3 separate regions of the Homo sapiens genome follow, and regions 2 and 3 are each linked to region 1. The links are contacts of gene promoters, found by promoter capture Hi-C in human tissues and cell types (Jung and others, 2019). All regions are on one chromosome and are shown on one strand. The core of a region is centred on a gene start or on the middle of the fragment in contact, and the rest is flanking DNA. Distances in the headings are between cores, read along the strand shown.

Evidence for each region. Contacts are between HindIII fragments. The study calls those that stand out against the background at their distance.
Region 2: a fragment that was not itself captured here is called in contact with the fragment with the promoter of WDR70 in region 1 in 1 of the 25 tissues and cell types used here (bladder).
Region 3: a contact is called between a fragment that was not itself captured here and the fragment with the promoter of WDR70 in region 1, in 1 of the 25 tissues and cell types used here (lymphoblastoid cells).

What each region holds. Positions count from the first base shown.
Region 1 is chr5:37,377,188-37,380,573 of GRCh38, forward strand. WDR70 (WD repeat domain 70) reads left to right here and starts at 2,131. Exons shown (of 18, transcript NM_018034.4): 1 at 2,131-2,205; 2 at 2,302-2,367. The coding sequence starts at 2,181. The HindIII fragment of the contact is 7,487 bases long and covers 1-3,386 here.
Region 2 is chr5:37,560,837-37,564,626 of GRCh38, forward strand. The region is part of intron 9 of WDR70 (WD repeat domain 70); the gene reads left to right. Among named protein-coding and RNA genes, the nearest start is that of WDR70, 180 kb to the left of the region's middle. RefSeq lists an enhancer at 1,593-2,300 and a silencer at 2,108-2,286. The HindIII fragment of the contact is 4,709 bases long and covers 1-3,790 here.
Region 3 is chr5:37,627,212-37,631,033 of GRCh38, forward strand. All of the region lies in intron 10 of WDR70 (WD repeat domain 70), which reads left to right. Among named protein-coding and RNA genes, the nearest start is that of GDNF-AS1, 210 kb to the right of the region's middle. RefSeq lists an enhancer at 3,134-3,634. The HindIII fragment of the contact is 4,042 bases long and covers 1-3,742 here.

The sequences.
Region 1 (3,386 bases), core at 881-3,380:
AACGATAATATGGGAGCAGTGGACTTGGCTGATCAGATGCTCACTTCTTATCCAGCTTAGCGCCAAAGGTACAAGGTTTGGTATAAGATATTCTTTCATAGGCTGTGTGCAGTGGCCCACGCCTGTAATCCTAGCACTTAGGGAGGCTGAGGCGGGTGGATCGCTTGAGCTCAGGAGTTCAAGACCAGCATGGGCAACATGATGAAACCCTATCTCTACAAAAAATACAAAAATTAGGCCGGGCACAGTGGCTCACGTCTGTAATCCCAGCACTTTGGGAGGCTGAGGCGGGCATATCACTTGAGGTCAGGAGTTTGAGACCAGCCTGGCCAACATGGTGAAACTCTGTCTCTACTAAGAATGCAAAAATTAGCCAGGGGTGGTGGCAGGGCCTGTAATCCCAGCTACTCGCAAGGCTGTGGCAGAATTGCTTGAACCCAGGAGGCGGAGGTTGCAGTGAGCTGAGATCGCGCCACTGCACTCCAGTCTGGGCAATGGAGCGAGACTCTGTCTCAAAAAAAAAAAAAAAAGTCGGGTGTGGTGGCGGTCACATGTAATCCCAGCTACTTAGGAGGCTGAGGCACAAGAATCGCTTGAACCCAGGAGGTGGAGGTTCATTGAGCCGAGATTGTGCCACTGCATTCCAGCCTGGGTGACAGAGTGAGATTCTGTCTCAAAAAGAAAGAGATTCTTCTCCACCTTCTAAACGTTAAAGTGTTGAACTCCCACATTCTGTTTAAGAAGGACAATCCTGAGCACACGATTAGCCTTGTAAACTTTAGACTGACAGGCCAGGTGCAGTGGCTCACGCCTTTAATCGCAGAACTTTGGGAGGCTGAGGTGGGCAGATCACAAGGTCAGGAGATTGAGACCATCCTGGCTAACACGGTGTAAACCCTGCCTCTACTAAAAATAGAAAAAATTAGCTGGGCGTGGTGGCGGGTGCCTGTAGTCTCAAATACTAAATAGCCGGGCATGGTGGCGCACACCTGTAGTCCCAGCTGCTCGGGAGGCTGAGGCAAGAGAATCGCTTGAACCTGGGAGGCAGAGGTTGCAGTCAGCTGAGATCACGCCACTGCACTCCAGCCAAGGCAACAGAGGGAGACTCAGTCAACAACAACAACAACAACAACAAAAAGGCAGAGCGCGGTGGCACGGGGCCTGTAATCCCAGCACTTTGGGAGGCCAAGGTGGGCAGATCACCTGAGGTCAGGAGTTCAAGACCAGCCTGGCCAACATAGCAAAACCCCGTCTCTACTAAATACACAAAAATTAGCCGGGTGTGGTGGCAGGCGCCTGTAATCCCAGCTACTCAGGACACTGAGGCAAGAGAAGAGCTTGAACCTGGGTGGCAGAGGTTGCAGTGAGCCGAGATCACGCCATTGCACTCCAGCCTGGGCAACAGAGTGAGACTCTGCCTCAAAAAAAAAAAAAAAAAAAAAAAAAGCAAAGGGTGTCGCCTGTAATCCCAGCACTTTGGGAGGCCGAGGCAGGCGGATCACTTGAGGCCAGGAGTTCGAAACCAGCCTGGCCAACATGGCAAAACGTCGTGTCTACTAAAAATACAAAAAATTAGCTGCGCGTGGTGGTGGACGCCTGTAATCCCAGCTACTTGGGAGGCTGAGACAGGAGAATCGCTTGAACCCGGGAGGCGGAGGTTGCAGTGAGCCGAGATCACGCCATTGCACTCCAGCCTGGGCGACAGAGGCTCCGTCTCAAAACAAAAACAAAAACAAAAAAAAAACAAACCAAAACAAAAAACCAAAAATTAGCCGGCACCTGTAATCCCAGCTACTCGGGAGGCTGAGGCAGGAGAATCGCTTGATCCCGGGAGGCAGAGGTTGCAGTCAGCTGAGATTACGCCACTGTACTGCAGCCTGGGCGACAGAGGCTCTGGCTTAAAAAAAAAAAAAAAAAAAGGGAAAGGATGTTATAGAAACTCCAGATACTACTTCTCCCCTCCAGTGGTCTGAGTTGCGCGGCGCTTTCCCGCCTGTCCGGTAGGGCGGTGCCGCGCAGAAAGCCGCGGTCCCTCTGCGGAAGGCGCCGCTCTTGGCTTCGGCGGCGCCGCTGTAGCTTGAAGGCGGTACTTCCTCCAGCATTTGCCGCAAGTTATTGGCAAGTTCCCCTGCAGTTGTTTGGGCTGTCCCTGTGGCTGGTTCTGGGGTGTGCGGCCAGCCATGGAGCGCTCTGGGCCCAGCGAAGGTGGGTTTCATGAGGCGAGTCCGGGCGGGGTGGGCCGTGTCGGGGGAGCTGGGGCGCCGCACTAACTAGGCCGCCTCTCTTTTCCTCTTGCTCCAGTGACAGGCTCAGACGCGTCGGGACCGGACCCGCAGCTTGCGGTCACCATGGGCTTCACGGGGTTCGGTGAGTGACTGCCCCAGGCAGAGACCCTCTTCCTTGTGCAGAGGTTTGAAGATCCGCAGAGTGGGAGTGGAGATCGAGCTGTCAACTCGGAATTATTGTAGCTCGGGTGCATACCTTGCAGTTTGTCAATATTCTTCTCCCATTTGTCTTCTATTCTGCGTTATCCGTTGGAACCAACTCAGATGACAGTTATGAGAGTCTGGAGAGAGAGGAAGAGAAAGGATTTTTCTAATTTTAAGTCACCAATAATGCTAAAATGAACATTTTTGTAAATAACAGCATTTGTACGAGGATTTTTAAAAATACGTAATTCGGTAGGGTAGATTTCTAAAAGAGAGTGTAGTTTATTCAGAAATATAAATACTTAAAAAGCTGAAAAATTGGGTATGTGCCTTTTAAAGCTTCTTGATGCTTATTGCCGTAATACCCATCAAAAAACTTGTTCCAGGTTATACCAAAGTTAACAGAATTAAGAATGCCATTTTTACCATATCCCTACCAACACAGAGTAGGTATTATTATTTAAAAAGAAAATTATTTAAAAAATGAAAACAAAACTTAGTAGACTGATACATGAAAAATGATTTCTCTTTATTTTCCATTTTAAAATTATAAATGCTGTTCATCCAAACATTGGGATTCTAACTTCCCTGAACCTTTTCTCAAGGTCTTCTTGTTTTCTTTTGACCAGCGTGTATTAATTCTATGATAGTAATTAAACAGTAGACTTACACATATTGGCCTTGGGTTGTGTTCACACATACTAGTTCTGTAGTTTCTCTATTCATTCTTTTTTTTTTTGGAGACGGAGTCTCGCTCAGTCGCCCAGGCTGGAGTGCGGTGGCAAGATCTCGGCTCACTGCAATCTCTGCCTCCCGGATTCACGCCATTCTCCGGTCTCAGCCTCCCGAGTAGCTGGGACTACAGGCGCCCGCCACCTCGCCCGGCTGATTTTTTTTTTGTATTTTTAGTAGAGACAGGGTTTCACCGTGTTAGCCAGGATGATCTCGATCTCCTGA
Region 2 (3,790 bases), core at 398-2,897, 180 kb after region 1:
GAGTCTTGCTCTGTCACCCAGACAGATTGCACTAGTGCAATAATAGCCCACTGCAGCCTTGAACTCCTGGGTTCAAGCTGTCCTCCTTCTCCAGCCTCTTGAGAAGCTAGGACTATAGGTGCAGACCACCAAGAAGCCAATCTTGAAGAAAAAAATACAAGTCAAAGCTTGGCTGAGCCGGCCATGTGGTACACCTATGACTGGCAGGTTCATGTATATGTCATTATTACTGAGTCAACTGCATTCTTTTCTTAATTCCATGAAAAGCAGTCTACTATACATACTGTCAGGGGAAATCTACTAAGAAGATGACTGTGATTGGCTATTACAGACTTGCCATGTCTCGTTTCACTGGTATTACAGGAAAAAAGAAATTTCTTTAAATAATACTTTAAGTGCCACGAAGACGGGACAATTTGTACTTCTTGGTATCCTCTATCCTCTCTCTCAAAGTGCTAGAAAAATGGACCGATCTAACTAATATAGAAAACCGAGGGATAAGATTATTTTGGTCAGTCTATAAATCCATATTTTTGAATTCTTTTAGAAATAAAGTCTTCCTCATCGATATCACAGAGATGGTATACACTATGCTAAAACAGCTGTTTAATTTAAATTGCATAAAATATTTAGTTAAGCTATATAGCCAAAACACATGCTAACAACAAATAAGGTTAGCCACCTTGGTGGGGAAATGGAGTGATAGTTCTCTAGAATCAGGAAGAATTCATTTGTGGCAGCTGCTTTGTTGGCATGGTGCTAAAGCTTGTTTTATCCCCAACAAGGACAGGATCTGGTGTAGGAGGGTCTCAGCAACAGGCCATGTCGTTATGAGGGTTATTTTTATAAAATAGGTCTCATTGTATTGGCAAAGCTTAATCCTCTGGTGGGTAGAATCCCTTTTATTATAGTTCATATTGTGACTTACTGCTTTTTAGTAGTAAATTAGAAAGGTTCTCTGTTGATTTAACATAAAGATAGCATCTGAAATTGTAAGCAGTTTTGCTATTTATGTAAATATTGTTTCATGTGTTATTGTGGAAAAGGAAGAAAGAACTTGTGGATTTAGAGAATTAAGGTTGAAGGAAATAGTGGCAAGGAAAAAAGAGGCATTTGAGGTATTCCATGATGCTGTCTCATGGTCCTGGGGTCTACATATGAGGAGGTGACACCAAATGCATGTTAAAATTTTATGTCATTAAGTGAAAATTTTTCTTTGTTTTTTAAAATGACATACTAGGCTGGGCGCGGTGGCTCATGCCTGTTATCTCAGCACTTTGGGAGGCCAAGGCAGGTGGATCACTTGAGGCCAGGTGTTCGAGACCAGCCTGGTCAACATGGTGAAACCCCGTCTCTATTAAAATATAAAAATTAGCTGGGTGTGGTGGCACATGCCTGTAATCCCAGCTACTTGGGAGGCTAAGGCGCAAAAATTGCTTGAACCGGGAGGCAGAGGTTGCTGTGAGCCAAGATAACACCATTGTGCTCCAGCCTGGCTGACAGAGTGAGACTGTGTGTCTCAAAAGAAAAAAAAAAGTAAAATGACATCCTAGAAAAATCAGAAAACTTAGATCCTGCAAGTTAATTAATGGCTTTGAGGCTTAATTCTCTTTTTTTTTTTTTTTAATTGATCATTCTTGGGTGTTTCTCCCAGAGGGGGATTTGGCAGGGTCACAGGACAATAGTGGAGGGAAGGTCAGCAGATAAGTGAACAAAGGTCTCTGGTTTTCCTAGGCAGAGGACCCTGCGGCCTTCCGGCCTTCCGCAGTGTTTGTGTCCCTGGGTACTTGAGATTAGGGAGTGGTGATGACTCTTAACGAGCATGCTGCCTTCAAGCATCTGTTTAACAAAGCACATCTTGCACCACCCTTAATCCATTCAACCCTGAGTGGACACCGCACATGTTTCAGAGAGCACAGGGTTGGGGGTAAGGTCACAGATCAACAGGATCCCAAGGCAGAAGAATTTTTCTTAGTACAGAACAAAATGAAAAGTCTCCCATGTCTACCTCTTTCTACACAGACATGGCAACCATTCGATTTCTCAATCTTTTCCCCACCTTTCCCCCCTTTCTATTCCACAAAACTGCCGTTGTCATCATGGCCCGTTCTCAATGAGCTGTTGAGTACACCTCCCAGACGGGGTGGTGGCCGGGCAGAGGGGCTCCTCACTTCCCAGTAGGGGCGGCCGGGCAGAGGCGCCCCTCACCTCCCGGACGGGGCGGCTGGCCGGGCGGGGGGCTGACCCCCCCCGCCTCCCTCCCGGACGGGGCGGCTGGCTGGGCGGGGGGCTGACCTCCCGGCCTCCCTCCCGGATGGGGGGGCTGGCTGGGCGGGGGGCTGACCCCCCCACCTCCCTCCTGGACGGGGCGGCTGGCCGGGCAGAGGGGCTCCTCACTTCCCAGTAGGGGCGGCCAGGCAGAGGCGCCCCTCACTTTCCGGATGGGGCGGCTGGCCGGGCGGGGGGCTGGCCCCCCACCTCCCTCCTGGACGGGGCGGCTGGCCGTGCAGAGGGGCTCCTCTCTTCCCAGTAGGGGCGGCCGGGCAGAGGCGCCCCTCACCTCCAGGATTGGGCGGCTGGCCGGGCGGGGGGCTGACCCCCCCACATCCTTCCCGGACGGGGCGGCTGGCCGGGCAGAGGGGCTCCTCACTTCCCAGTAGGGGCGGCCGGGCAGAGGCGCCCCTCACCTCCCGGATGGGGCGGCTGGCCGGGCGGGGGGCTGACCCCCCCCCACCTCCCTCCCGGACGGGCGGCTGGCCGGGCGGGGGGATGACCCCCCCCACCTCCCCCCGGATGGGGCGGCTGGCCGGGCGGGGGGCTGACCCCCCCCCACCTCCCTCCCGGACGGGGCGGCTGGCCGGGCGGGGGGCTGACCCCCACCTCCCTCCCAGACGGGGTGGCTGCCGGGCGGAGATGCTCCTCACGTCCCAGACGGAGTGGCTGCCGGGCGGAGGGGCTCCTCACTTCTCAGACGGTGTGGCTGCCGGGCGGAGGGGCTCCTCACTTCTCAGATGGGGCGGTTGCCAGGCAGAGGGTCTCCTCACTTCTCAGACGGGGCGGCCGGGCAGAGACGCTCCTCACATCCCAGACGGGGCGGCAGGGCAGAGGCGCTCCCCACATCTCAGACGATGGGCGGCCTGGCAGAGACGCTCCTCACTTCCTAGATGGGATGGCGGCCGGGCAGAGACGCTCCTCACTTTCCAGACTGGGCAGCCAGGCAGAGAAGCTCCTCACATCCCAGACGATGGGCGGCCAGGCAGAGACGCTCCTCACTTCCCAGACGGGGTGGCGGCTGGGCAGAGGCTGCAATCTCGGCACTTTGCGGGGCCAAGGCAGGCAGCTGGGAGGTGGAGGTTGTAGCGAGCCGAGATCACGCCACTGCACTCCAGCCTGGGCACCATTGAGCACTGAGTGAACGCGACTCCGTCTGCCATCCCGGCACCTCGGGAGGCCGAGGCTGGCAGATCACTCGTGGTTAGGAGCTGGAGACCAGCCCGGCCAACACAGCGAAACCCCGTCTCCACCAAAAAAAATACGAAAACCAGTCAGGTGTGGCGGCTTGCGCCTGCAATCGCAGGCACTGGGCAGGCTGAGGCAGGAGAATCAGGCAGGGAGGTTGCAGTGAGCCGAGATGGCAGCAGTACAGTCCAGCTTTGGGTCGGCATCAGGGGGAGACCGTGGAAAGAGAGGGAGAGGGAGACGGTGGGGAGAGGGAGACCGTGGGGAGAGGGAGAGGGAGAGGAGGGAGAGGGAGAGGAGGGAGAGGGAGAGCGAGGCTTAATTCTCTTAT
Region 3 (3,822 bases), core at 472-2,971, 250 kb after region 1:
CTGAGTAGCTGGGACTACAGGTATGTGCCACCATGCCTGGCTAATTTCTGTATTTTTCTGTAGAGATGAAGTTTCACCGTGTTTCCCAGGAAACTTGAGAACGTTTCCATAGTTCTCAAACGTGTGGGCTCAAATGATCCTCCAACCTTGGCCTCCCAAAATGCTGGGATTACAGGCATGAGCTACCATGCCAGGCCTCAGTCTCAATTTTGTTTATTTATGCTCTGATTGTTTTTATTTCTTTTACTAATTTGGGGTTTGTTTGTTTTTTTTCTTCATTTTCTAGTTCTTTGAGGTGCATTGTTAGGTTTTTTATTTGAAATCTTTTTATTTTTTGGCATAGGCATGTATTACTATAAACTTGCCTCTTAATACTGCTTTTGCTGTGTGCCATAAGCTTTGGTACATCGTGTTTCTATTTCCATTTGTTTCAAGAAATTTTAAAATTTCATTCTTAATTTTGAGTTTAACCTGTTGGTTGTTTAGAAGCATTTTGTTTAGTTTCCATGTGTTGGTATAGTTTTGAATGTTCCTCTTGTTATGTCTAGTTTTATTTCATTGTGGCAAGATAAGATGCGTCATATCTTGATTTTTAAAAATTTATTGAGACTTGTTTTGTGCCCTAACATATGGTCAGTCCTGGAGAGTGTTCCATGTGCTGCTGAAAAGAATGAAGTTGTTAGGTGAAATATTCTGTAAATGTCTTTTAGGTCTGTGGTACAGTTTGTGTAGAAACAAGTTCTCACCCTGTCACCTTGGCTGGAGTGCAGTGGCGTGATCATAGTTCACTGCAGCCTTGAATTCCTGGGCTCAAACGATACTCCTTCCTCAGCCTCCTTAGTAGCTAGGACTATAGGCACATGACATCACAGCCAGCTTATTTTTTATTTTTTGTAGAGACAGAGTTTCACTACATTGCCCAGGGTTGTCTCAAATTCCTGGCCTCAAGTGATCCTCTGCCTTGGCCTCTCAAAGTGTTGGGTTTACAGGCATAAGCCTCCATTTCTGGCCTGTGGTGCAGTTTAAATCTATGTTCCTTTGTTGATTTTCTGCCTACATGACCTTTCCAGTGCTGAGAGTGGGGTGAAATTCCCTACTACATATTGAAGTGTTCCCCACTATGTACTGAAGCCCATTTCTCCCTTTAGATCTAATAATGTTTGCTTTATATATCTGGGTGCTCCTGTGTTGGATGCAAATATATTTACAATTGTTATATTCTCTTGCTGAATTGATCCTTTTATTATTATATAACGTACTTTTTTGTCACTTTATAGCTTTTAACTTGAAGTCTATTTTGTCTGACATAAGCATAGCTACTCCTGCTCACTTGATTTTCATGTGCATGTAATACTTTCAGTTTAAGTGTGTCTTTATAGCTGAGGTGAGATTCTTATAGGCAGAATATGTTTGGGTCTTGTTTTTTCATTCATTCAAATAGTGTATATGTTTTAAATGGGGGAATTTAATCCACTTACATTCAAGATTATTGATAGGTGAGGACTTACTCCTTTCATTTTGTTGATTTTCTGGTTATTTTGCATATCCTTTGTTCCTTATTCCCTTACTTATCATTTTTATGGTTAGGTGGTTTTCTCTAGTGGTAAGGATTGATTATTTTCTCTTCTTACTTTTGTATCAGCTCTACCAGTGAGTTTTATAGTTATACATGTTTTCATGATGGTAGCTGTTGTCTTTTCACTTCCAGATGTAAGACTCCCTTGAGCATGTCTTGTAAGACTGTTCTAGTGGTGATAAATTCCTTTAGTTTTTGCTTCTCTATTGGGAGATTTTATTTCTCCTTCATTTCTGAAGGATAGCTTTGCAGGGTATAATATTTTTAGCTAGCAGGGTTTCCCCACCCCTGCTTTCAGTACTTTGAATATATCATCCCATTCTCTCCTGGCCTGTAAGCTTTCTGCTGAGATATCTGCTGTTAGCCTAATGGAGATTCCCTTATTTATGACTTGACTCTTTTCTCTTGAATGCTTTTGGAATTCTTTGTCTTTTACTTATTACAATTTGACTATGTTGGGCTCCAGAGAGGACCTGTTTGGGTTGAATCTGTTTGGGGTTCTTTGAGCTCCCTGGACCTAAATGCTCATCTCTCTCCCAAGACTCAGGAAATTTTCTGCTATTATTTCATTAAATATGATTTCCTCACCTTTACCCTTCTTTTTTCCATCTGGAATGCCCATAGTATGAATATTTGCTTGCTTAATGATATCTCATAAATCCTTTAGGCTTTCCTTATTCTTTTTAATTCATTTTTGCCACTGCTTGTGTTATTTCAAAAGATCTATCTTCAAGTTCAGAAATTTTTTCCTCCATTTGGTATAGTCTGTTGTTGAAGCTCTCAATTATATTTTCTATTTCATTCATTTAATTCTCAGCTCTAGGATTTCTTTTTGGTTCTTTTTTATGATAATCCACCTCTTTCTTGAATTTATTACTTATATCATAAGTTGTTTTCCTGATTTTGTTGAATTGTTTATCTGTATTCTCTTGTATCTCACTCAGTTTCCTTAAGATTATTATTTTGAATTCTTTTTCTGGCATTGCATGTATTATGATTGTGGTCTGTTACTAGAGAATTATGTTTCTCTTTGGAAGTGACATGCTTCCTCGCTTTTTCATTATTCTGTGTCTCTGTATTAATTTCTGTGAATCTGGTGGTCGCCTCTTCCAATTTTATTCACTAGGTGTCACAAGGAAAGACTTACTCATATAAATGGATCTTGGGTTGTTGATTTGATGGAGTGCATTGGCTTTGGATCTAGGTGGACACAGTAGTGTAGTTGTCATAAAATTTCTTCAACCGTAATCCATACTGGGGGCATTTGAGAGTTTCTCAGTGGCCTAGGCTGAGAGAGTTTGTGGTGACAGTAGTGCAGCTTTGCCAGGCTTGGGCTAACTGGGCTGTCTCTTAGGTTGGGCATTTGTTCATGCACACAGTGGGTCAGGCAGCTTGGAGTCTGGCTCACTGGGGTTGTAGCCACAGGGATGTTACTCTAGCCAGGAGCACAGGCATGCTTGTAGTTGCTTGGCTAGACTAAGGCATGTCTGCTGGGGATGGCTCATAGGGCTGTTTCTCAGCCATGTATTTAGGCTCATGGCTGCTTCAACAGTCTGCAATGTTTCCACCAGGGGTGGCCTACAGCATTGTTTCTCAGACCCTTGTTGAGGATGTGAGGGGGTTGGGCAGGACATGTCTTGGGAGGGAAGAGGGCACTGTGTTTCTGAATCCCTGAGTGTGGGCACTTAGCCACTCCACTGGCCCAGGGCTATGTCAGCTGCTTGCAGACTTGTAGGCCTCTCCCACCTGGCAGAGGGCATGCAGTGGTTTGGCTAGCCCAAGGATGGATTTGTCCTAGGCAGGACTGGTAGGCTTTTAGTGCAATTGGGAGTGTGGCCCCAGGAGTTGGTTACCTGCTGTGTAGGACCATAGTCACAGCCAATCCTGGGCCCATACTCTGCACAGCTGGGATTGTGACATTCATATATAATGTATGGACTTGGCATAATCAATATGAAACCCCAGTGCTGGAGAAGTGCAGTAGGGCTACTGGCTCCCTGAGCAAGGAGCATTCCAGAGGTGCCTCAGGTAACAAGATGGCACTCTGCTGCAGTAGCTTGTCTCACAGGGGAGAGGGTGCACCTTGTGCTCCTAATCTGGAGCAGTGAAACTGCATGAATTCCTGGCATTTCTCCAGATGGAGCTGAGAGCTTGTAAGGACCATGGGATTCTTCTGTTTGAAGGACTGTAGGCATTTGTGGTGGCAATGGGGGTTGGTGGTGATATTCTGCTTACCTTTTTCCCAT